Linked DNA regions of Homo sapiens: regions 2 and 3 are each linked to region 1. Evidence: promoter capture Hi-C in human tissues and cell types (Jung and others, 2019). All regions are on one chromosome and are shown on one strand. Each heading gives the region's core, a stretch centred on a gene start or on the middle of the fragment in contact. The rest is flanking DNA. Distances are from core to core; before and after follow the strand shown. Region 1 holds the start of AP3B1 (adaptor related protein complex 3 subunit beta 1). Region 2 holds the start of HOMER1 (homer scaffold protein 1). Region 3 overlaps ZBED3-AS1 (ZBED3 antisense RNA 1).

Region 1 (3,304 bases), core at 501-3,000:
CAAATAAAGTAATCAAAGCCTAGCTCTTTTTACTATTAATATATATAAAACTACTTAGAACTTTTAATATATATTAAAAGTTAACTATTTTAACTTAAAAGTATTTATTTTAACTTAAAATAAATTTTTTTATATTAAAAGTTAACTACTTTAACTATTTATATATATAAAACTACTTAGAAGTTTTAATATATATAAAACTACTTATATCCTGGTATATATTAAGGATTATATAATAATATATAGTTATCTATGATCATCCTCATCCTCATCATCAATAGTCAGTTGTAGGTGAAATTCTATTAATTAATACTGACAAATAACACATTTTAGGTGCTCATCATTGGCTCTCCGGAGGAGTATTCTAACAGCTGAATTAAAAACCTGCCAATATTTGACCAGACGATCAAGTTTGGAGGACGTCCCTTCCTCTCCCACCCAGAGCCACGCTCTTGCGTGCTTCCACAGTGACAGTGTGACCTTTTGAAATTTGGAGATCATACTCTCATCCTTGAAAACGCCCCACCGCCTTCCCTGGGGCGGCCGGCCTCCAGGTTCGCGTTCTACCTGGTAGAATCCCTTGACAGTTTCAGTACCTGGCCGCCAGGGCTTTGGGTGTTAATGCCTTCCTTGGACGGGAGGCACTGGGGAGAAGAGAGGGAAGGCGCTGAAACCCACCTGAGAAGGCGGGCTGGGGGAAGGCACCCCGGGAAAGAGGTTTTCTCGGGTGCCAGCACCCGGAGAGAGCTACTCTGGGGCCAGGCAAGCATCCCGCCTAGGCTCCCTAGTGCATATTAGTGAGTAACACGACTGGCGCGCGAGGTGGTCCATTTTATTTTTGGTAGCTAGACGCCAATAGGACGCACCACTTCAGCTCCAAACGGGAACTGGTGGCCCCAAGATGTTTTCTTTTCTTTTTCATTTTTTTGAGACAGGGTCTCGCTCTGTCGCCCAGGCTGGAATGCAGTGGAGAGATCTCAACTCATCGCTACCCCCTCCTTCTGGGTTCGAGTGATCCTCCCACCTCAGCCTCAGTAGCTGGGACCACAGACACGCGCCACCACGCCGGCTAATTTTTATATTTTTTGCAGAGAAAGGGTCTCGCTATGTTGCCTAGGCTGGTCTCGAACTCCTGGCCTCAAGTGATCCACCCGCCTCGGCCTCCCAAAGTGCTGGAATTACTGGCGTGAGCCACCGCGCCCGGTCTGCCCCCAAGACTTTCATTGAAAAGATGGAATGGTCGCTTCTGTGCGGATCCTCCAAACCATCGTTGGGAGAGGCCTCCTTAAAGTCTAGGAGAAAAGTTGTTTGGGACCGATATGAAAGTAAGGCAAAGCCGGATGGAAGAGAGTAGCCGAAACAAGCAAGAAAAGGAAAAGCGATCGTGATGGGTTTAGGAAAGGTGATCTGGCGTGCTAAATGGCATTTCCGGAGAAATCTGAAAACTATTGCTTTACTGAAGTATAGCAAAGAGCTGTCCGGGCTCTGGAAACTCCTTAACGGATCAAAACGGATGCAATGGGTATCCTTCTCCAAAGACACACCTCAAACGGGCCGGGAGCCGGGCAGTTAGCCACCCGCTGCCTCCCCTTCCGCAGTCCGGCTCGCAGCCGCTCAGCTACCTCTAAAGCCCGGAGCAGGAAAGTCCGCGCAGGCCTGGATGGCCCGGGTGGTAATCTAGCAGGCCTGCACACTGCGCATGCGCAGGGGGTGGACTGCCAGGTCGGCTCAGGGAGCCGTGACGAGTCCGGAAGCGCCTGCGCGCGCTCCTCCGTACGAGAACTAGTTTTGTTCCGTGCCCTCTGGACTGGAACCTTTTGGAGAGAACCCCCGGCAGGACCAACCCCGCACCCGCCAGCACCGCGGCAATGTCCAGCAATAGTTTTCCTTACAATGAGCAGTCCGGAGGAGGGGAGGCGACGGAGCTGGGTCAGGAGGCGACCTCAACCATTTCCCCCTCGGGGGCCTTCGGCCTCTTTAGCAGCGATTTGAAGAAGTGAGGAGAAAGGTTTGGGTTGCGGGGATGGGAGGGAGGAGCTGCGGACTCGGAGGAGTGGGCGCCAGGGTGGGCTTCCTGGAGAGGAGCGGGGTCGCCCTGAGGTCTGAGCAGGGCAGGGCGGTAACGTGTCCCGCGGGTGGGTAGGTGGGGTTGGTTGGCGGTGGTGGGAGTTGTGGGAGTTTGGGGCGAATGTGTGTAGGGGTCTCTAGTAGTTTTCAAACTTTAGTGAAAAGGAAACCACTTGGTGAGCTTAGATCCCACCCCTGAAGACACTGATTGAATTGGACTTGGGCTGGGCTCAGGAGTCTGAATTTTGAGCATCGTCTTCTAGTTTATTTACCGTTCGCCGGATCAGACTTTAATACATTCCCTGATTAGGGTGAAAGGAGTGTTTTGGTGAAGGTGAGAGTGCGAGTGTTGCTTGTGGGAAGTTATTTTGTGACCCCGGAGTGTAGGAGCAGAGAGGTGGATTTAGGCTGTTTGAATGGACAAACTGGTTTACACCAGTATTAATGTTCTTGGATTATGTCCTTTGCACTACAGACAAAAACACCAATCCAAAATAAGCATATGAATAGAAAATATTTTAAAAGAGTGTTACTGTGAACAAATCCAAAACTTTTACAGATTAATAATGTGAATTTTAAAAACGAATGTTAAACAAGGTACACTTAGTTTTGTAAAAAGTATCACCGAGAAATGGAAAGAAATCCCAAGTTGTTTGTTTTGGGGGGTGGGTTGGTGGTAGTGGTTACATTTACCAGAATTATCATTTTTACATTTCTCTTATTTTAAATCTTTCATTACTAAGCAATAGGGTCACATAATAGTCTGTCACTAAATTCATGCTAAATTAAGGTAGAATAGCTGTGCTAGTAGCTTTGCAGATCTGTTAGAGGGTATAATTAAAATTTAAATTAAACGTTACTAACAATATTGGGTAGTCTAGAAAGTGCTACTACTTCAAATTGGGATTACATTTTGGCTGTATTGAGGATCAAAATCATATATATAGCATGTAAGATACAATCTTTTCCTTTTTCCCAAGGTTAGAAAAGTTTAAAAGTAAGGTAACTGATTTCATTTTTCATTATATGCATTTGATGATCCATTGTTCTAGAACAAGTACGGAGCTTGTTGCCTCTACTATTAGCAAAATGTTTAGACTGAATTAACCTGTATATCGGCATCAATCTGTTTCGCAAATTAATTTACTTTTATGGTTTGTGAACATCTACGATGTTTTCTCTTAGATTTTTGTCAGATTTGGGGCCAGGCACTGCGGCTCACGCCTGTAATCCCAGC
Region 2 (3,304 bases), core at 595-3,094, 1.2 Mb before region 1:
GAAAGCTGCAAAACCAATGTTCCTTAATTAGGAACCATGTGAGTAGTTTAACATTACAAACAGTTTCTAAAAGTCACACGTGGTATACATTCTAACGAGTTTTAGCTTCTTTTATTTAAACTGCGTTGATATTGATCTATAACTTTCCTAATAATCACTTCATAGGTTGGTAATCCTATGTTTTGGATTTTCCAGGTCACTTCAGATTCAAATATTTTTTCCTAACGTCAAATGGTGTGTCTAGATTTTGGTCTGGAAAACAGGGTCACTAAATTTGTAGACTAACTTGAAACAGTATTGGCCTTTGGCAATACGCAGCAATTCTATTTCTTGGCCATGCTTATCAAGTTAAGTAAAATAAAATCAAAGTTCACTATATGATTTACCTAATTAAAAAATTGTTTTAACCTAATTACTTTAAAATAATTTAAAAACTCTGTAGTAATTTACAATGTAAAAAGCACTCATAATATGGTGTTTATAGACACACATAGCTAGTAAACCTATAGACAGCTACTCACCCTTGCCATACAGAAAATGCAAAACACACTTAAGAGATATTGTAATTACATATTATGTGGTCAAAACTAAAGAAGACGAAAATATGCTTGTGTTAATGAAAAAGGATTTGGTGCTCTTTCTTATTTTTAATTTTTAAATTTTAATTTAAATTCCACAGACTGAAACCCATATACTTTTTCTCTTTCTTGTTTTACTGGCTGGAGCCAAGTGTCATGGAACTCATATTCTTGATGAAGAGAAACTGAGAGGACACACTGGCATTTGCTATACGTGAACTAAGATTGACTCATTTTCCTATGTCAAAACTGCTATTTTGCAAATAAAATTACTATCCTTTATAACATTATTTCGTTTGCTTATTGCTCTGCTCTTTATTCTTTCGTGTTTCAGGTAACCACTAACAAAAAGTTTAAAAGTCGACTATGTCCAGAATGGCACTCTATAATTGAAAATTTAGGTGATTTTTCCGAAGTCCTGTTGGAAGCACATCTACCAGCAGTGTGATCAGGCTCTCCCTCCCACATTTCCCTGCTAGTCAGGACAAGAGAAGCCCGGGGGTGCTGCTGCAATAGCGGTGGGAGTGGGAGATAGGCTATTACCCGCTTGACACTGCACTTTTGCTACGAATGATTCACTCAGGTTTGGCACATTTGTTGCAAGGAAATCTCCTCCTCCCGCCGCTTCCTTGTTCGAGCTCCTCTCGGGCTGTCTCCTGTGCTTTGGCCTTTAAGGAGAAGTGAGAGCAGGTGGGCACACAGGAGCTCGCCGAGTCCTCCTCCCCCTGCTCCTTCCCTAATTTAGCAGTACTTCCGGCCGCGTGACATCATCCCCCGCACCTCGGTGACGTGAGCTGCGGGTGACGTGTGTGCGGAGAGAAGCGCGCTGACGTTGCTATTTAAAGGTCCTCCTGCGGGGAGGATGGAGACACAGCGCGAGCACCTGGTGTGGGGCGCGGAGGAGGCTGTGGCGGTCGGGAGCGGGGCCAAGAGCCAGAGGAGGAGCAGAGCGCACGGCCAGCCAGCCGCCAGCCTCTAGGGGAGGGGGGAAAAGAAGGACGAACGGACTGAGGGCCTGCCGCCGGCCCAGCTCCCCACGAGGGCCGCTCGGCCCCCCACCATCAGCCTCTCCGCCGCCTTGCGGCTGCTGCTTTCTCCCGCGGCCCGCTGCTCGCAAGGCCCGTCGGGCTCCCGGGACCAGTCCGCGCCCCAGCCCCCGGCCGCGGCTCCGCGGCGGCCACCGCCTCCCGTCCCTTCCCGCGAGCAGAGGGAGGGACCGCCCTCGCTCCCCGTTCTCTCCGCCCCCTTCCCGCCCCCCGCAGCCCACTCTGCCGCCGCGCTAGCTTCACGCCGGCGGCGCTGACCGGGAAAGCAGCACCCTCTTCTCTGCCAGCCGGCCGGCCGGCGGAGGCGGAGGCAGCGGCAGGCTTCAGGCCGCCGGGGCTGGCGCTGCTCTGCCCGGCGGTAGCCGGAGGCGGGCGCTGATGGAAGTGTGAAGAGGCGGCGGCGGGGCCCGGGGAATGTGAGGCGGCGCGTGGCGGCGGCGCGGAGCGTGAGAGACGAGGAGTAGGGGTGGGGGCGCTGGAGCGGCGGCTGCGCTTCGGCTTCGAGCCCAGCTCTCCTGGCCCCAACGCGGGCTTAGCCTCCCGCCTTGGCTCGGGCAGGCGCCCGTCGACCCTTCGGCCCCTTTCGCCCGCCCTGGAGCTGGGGGCAGGGTGCCAGTGGAAGCGTGGGGCTTGGCTCTGTGATTCATTCATTCTCCGCCGACGGGAGCCTCAGACCCGCTGTGCTCTGAAGAGAGGAGGGAAGAGGGGGCAGCCGCGAATGAAGGGCCGGGCACCAGCCGGGCTCCATTGTGCTCGGCGGCGGGGGGCGGGAAGGGGCTGAGGGAGGTGGGATCGGGTCCCCTCCTCCAGCTCTCCGGCGTGCGCTGCGCCCCCAGCCTGCTGCCAGCCTGGAAATGGCTCCGTTTATTCTCTTCGGGAGAATGAATCGATCCTGCCTAGCCTTCTCTTCGTCCTCCCCACCTCTTCTCTGCTCCGAGTCTTAGGAGGAGAAACATTTAAAAAGACAGATTCCAATGTGGAGTGCCGTGCAGGTTGCGAGCTGCCGGGTTTGCACTTCGAGGAGATTTTCCTGTGTAGTTTTTTTCCTAATGTGAGCGCAGGGAAGCCGTGGCATTACTGCTTTTGGGATTTTTATTCACGTGCACGTCGCGTTTGGTTGCTCGCTCCACCCCCGGAGACCTGGTGTGGTGGAGAAATTTGAACCCGCAGCCTTAGCTCCGAAAAGGCCGAGTTACCTGGCTCTCCCTGAGTGTCGAGGAGGACATGAGTGAAATGACCAGCGAACTCATTTTTTATAGGACTCGGTGAAGCCGGATTCTGCATTTCCCTACTTGTAGACTCATTTTGTGGAATAGAGTTGATCGCTGTCTCCTCCGCAAAGCATTTTAACTCGAATAAGCAAATGCCGCCTCTGTTTGAACGTTTTGGTATTTACAAGAGAGAAATCATTTTACCTAAGAGAACTAATTGAATTGGCAGCATCCTTGAAATACCTCCGGACAAGGATCTGGGGGTGGGGGTGGAAAAGCAACTGCGAAATAGCAGACGGAGAAATTCCTTTGGAAGTTATTCCGTAGCATAAGAGCTGAAACTTCAGAGCAAGTTTTCATTGGGCAAAATGGGGTAAGGATTTTTGTGCTTAACACAGCTTCGAATCTGTTTATGTATGTGTATTATTGAGCGGTGGTGGTGATTGTGTTTTGTGTTTTCAAACAAACT
Region 3 (3,304 bases), core at 418-2,917, 1.2 Mb after region 1:
GAGAGGAAAGAAAGTCCTGCCTAGGAAAAGCTTCAGGCTGCAGCACAGTTCTGAGAAACTGTGACACTGTGTCCAGCCAGAACAAAGGAGTGTTAGTGTCTGAGGCAAAGGCTGTTCATTAGAGTAGCCTCACATCAGGTAGGCACAAGTGGCTCTACTGTCCTCATCTTATTCAGTGATCAGCTGGGAGCAGTCGAAGGGAAGTATGGCCTCTACGTAGCTGTCACTCAGCTATGCTTTCCATGGCCGACTATCTTAAAGGGACATCTAAGCAGTGTACCTCCAGGACTGCCACAGTCCATTTCTTTTCCTCCATAGATCCAGTTCCCCATGGCTCCTGTGGGCCCTCTTCTTGAGGAAATACTTAGAAGAGAGAAGTTAATGGGAGGAACTATAGCCCCTAGTGCCGCCAGTTGTCTTGAGATCGCAACCCATAGTCATCTTCTCCTACCTGCACTATCCAATCTAAATTCCCCTCCCCCTCTTTATTATCTTCATTATCTTTATTCCAGAAGGTCTTAGCTGTTGGCAGTCACATCACAGATTGGGCAAGACTACAGAAAAACTTGACCACAGGGATCACCTGGGATCCATACACATTCCTTCCTCCCTGTCCCATTGTGTACAGGCAGCCTCACCTCTTTCTGCTGATGGAAGTCAATGATTTCTTCTTTTCACCTGCTGGTCTCTTCATAGAAAGAGTCCAAAATGCCCTGGTGGCAGCCATAGTATATAGTTCAATGGGACACTTGCTGTGTCTCCTGCCAAGCTGCACCTCATTTGAGGACCAAAACCTCTAATCTCATAGAGCCCAGAGTTGTAGAGACAAGAAGCACAAAGTTCCCCAGGAGGTCATTGGAAATGATAAGTGGGTCCACTCCTGCTTCCACTTCTTGGTTCTCAGACCCATGTATTCTTCCTGTTGAGGACATAGCACCACATGGAGAACCCCAGTTTAATGTATACAGTGCATCCTGCAGGATGGTACCCTGTTCTTTCAGAGCATTGCCTCCAGCTGGAGCTCCAGCTGTGCCTTTAGTAACCATTCCAATGCTTTATGAGGCTGGCTCCATCTAGGTGATACAGTATCTGATATGACCAGTGGATCCCATGGTCATTGTCCTATTCCCAAGCCTCCTTTGCGATGAAGTGATCCTCTGGTCAATATTATGCTGTGTGTGCTTCCATGACTACAGATCGGCCCCAGGTAGTGGGGCTTGCTGAAGCTCTGTGGCAAGGAAAGGCAAATCTAAAGCCAGGAGAGGTATCTAACCCTGTGAGGATGAACTGTGGAACCTTCCAGGACAGAAGGCCCAATATAGCTGACTTGCCAACTATATTGGAGATGCAAAAGTTTATTTTCCAACTCAGCAAGTCCCAGAATTCTTGGGCTCCCTGCATTCCACCTACATGTTCCTTGAAACCTGGCTGGTTCTTTTCTGAACTCATCTCTAGTACCTATTATATGCAGCTAAATACAACTAGCTCACACTTTTATCATTGTGCATGAAGACTTCTCAGCACAAATCCAAATATTTTTAGGTACATATGCTAACTTCCAAGTTACCAAAGGTGACAGTTTTAGAAAATGTCTCATCCCTGCAAAACACAGATTACCATTTTCTTTCCAGCCTCCTATAACAGTTTTCTTGTGCCCATCATCCAGCCTCCAAACCAATGCCACTTATTTTTTTGTTTTCTTGTGCCTATACCTCACTACAAATATCAATTTCTAATACCAATTAGATACTAATTTCTGATACCAAAAGCTATTGCCACAAAATGTTATATGACAAACATCCAAAAATTCAGTGGCTTAAAATAACAGTCGTTTATTGTCATTGATCTATGAATCAGCTGAGTGTTGGCAGATCCAAGCTGGGCTCCACTGTGCAGCTCTGCTGATTCAGGCTGAGCTTGGCCAGGAGGGTTTGGCTTTGCTCCATGTGTTACTCATCCTCCTTCTAGAACCAGTGGGCTAGTCATCAGCCTGTTTGTTCTGTGCTTCTGATGGCATAAGCCTAAGAAAACAAGCCCAACCACACAAGTGTTTTTCAAGCCCCTACTTGCAACATACTTGCTAATATCCCACTAGCCAAAGTAAGTCAGGGTGAGGGAGAAAAGTGAATATTTTGAATAATAATCTAACCTACCACATGTTATTGTGGAATCATAGGTCATCTCCAAAGAGGAAAAGTCATCAGATACAAAGGATTGTGAATGAGAATGGCAGAACTTCTCTAGAGCAATATCAGAAGCTAGAAGACAATGAAATGCCTTCCAAATTCTGAGTGAAATTGTTTTAAACCTAGAATTCCATATCCGTCTAAACTATCAGTTAATTATAAGGCTAGAATAAAGATATTTTGAGATATGCACATGTAGAGTCTCAGTTAATGTACCTCCCATAGACCTTTCCTTAGAAGCTACTAGAGAATAAGAACCACCAAAAAGACGCAACCAAAACAGAGGAAGATAGAAAACATAGGAAATCCAGTTTAGGAGAGAGATGATGGAAATTTCCAGCATGATAGCACATGAAGTTCCATATTGTTGCACAGAAGACAGCAAGACTAGTCTGGAGCAGAGGGATGGAGGGCTCCATGGCTCTCTGCAGCGTGGGGAATTTGACTGAGTGGAAAGATACATAAAATGCTATTGTAGACAGTGGGAAAACCCAAGTATAGGTAAAATGGAAAACTAAGCAAATGAAAAATAACACAATTATTTAGAGGTATGTAGAAGGACGTAAAATCATAGCCCACTATTTTGTTCAGCCATAAACAATATTTCATATTATAAGAAGAACTGTCCTATAACTATATTGAGAGAATGGGAAGAAGAAAGTGAATAATGCCATAATAGAGAGTCACCAGACAATATTCAAGGTTGATAAATCAGGAAAAACAATATAGCACATATTAGTTAGCAATATGGAGGAAATGTATTGAGTCTGGAAAGTGGAATTAGAAAATATGAGGGGTGGGACATGGGCTTGTTCTATTTGGTTGCAAATCTTTTATCAATATTGGACTGTTGTGTAAAAATATGTACATATATTACTCTGATAAATTTTTTCAGGCCTAGGGAAATGTAATACAATTAGCTTGTATACTACTTTGGTGAGAGCAAATTTCATCTATTTTATCATTTATTGAATAAATATTTTTGCTTTGTTCTAGGTACAAATATTTTTGCTTAGTTGTAGGCATCAAAATAATTATGCACCGTGTTTGATGATTACAAAACACATTTGCATATATTTAATCTTGTGATTCAATTCTTACAACTCTGTGAGTTTGAT

What was found. The method cuts DNA at HindIII sites, captures the fragments that hold promoters and counts their contacts. A contact is called where the count stands out against the background at its distance.
Region 2: the fragment with the promoter of HOMER1 here is called in contact with the fragment with the promoter of AP3B1 in region 1 in 1 of the 25 tissues and cell types used here (aorta).
Region 3: a contact is called between a fragment that was not itself captured here and the fragment with the promoter of AP3B1 in region 1, in 1 of the 25 tissues and cell types used here (hippocampus).

The regions. Positions count from the first base shown.
Region 1 is chr5:78,293,144-78,296,447 of GRCh38, reverse strand. It overlaps AP3B1 (adaptor related protein complex 3 subunit beta 1), which reads left to right and starts at 1,750. Exons shown (of 27, transcript NM_003664.5): 1 at 1,750-1,996. The coding sequence starts at 1,869. RefSeq lists enhancers at 490-539, 914-1,487. The HindIII fragment of the contact is 13,991 bases long and covers 1-3,304 here.
Region 2 is chr5:79,512,674-79,515,977 of GRCh38, reverse strand. HOMER1 (homer scaffold protein 1) reads left to right here and starts at 1,844. Exons shown (of 9, transcript NM_004272.5): 1 at 1,844-3,208. The coding sequence starts at 3,204. RefSeq lists enhancers at 1,122-1,311, 1,020-1,567 and a silencer at 1,562-2,271. The HindIII fragment of the contact is 12,079 bases long and covers 1-3,304 here.
Region 3 is chr5:77,131,920-77,135,223 of GRCh38, reverse strand. The region is part of intron 2 of ZBED3-AS1 (ZBED3 antisense RNA 1); the gene reads right to left. It also overlaps a transcript of PDE8B not described here. Among named protein-coding and RNA genes, the nearest start is that of ZBED3, 46 kb to the right of the region's middle. The HindIII fragment of the contact is 4,061 bases long and covers 1-3,304 here.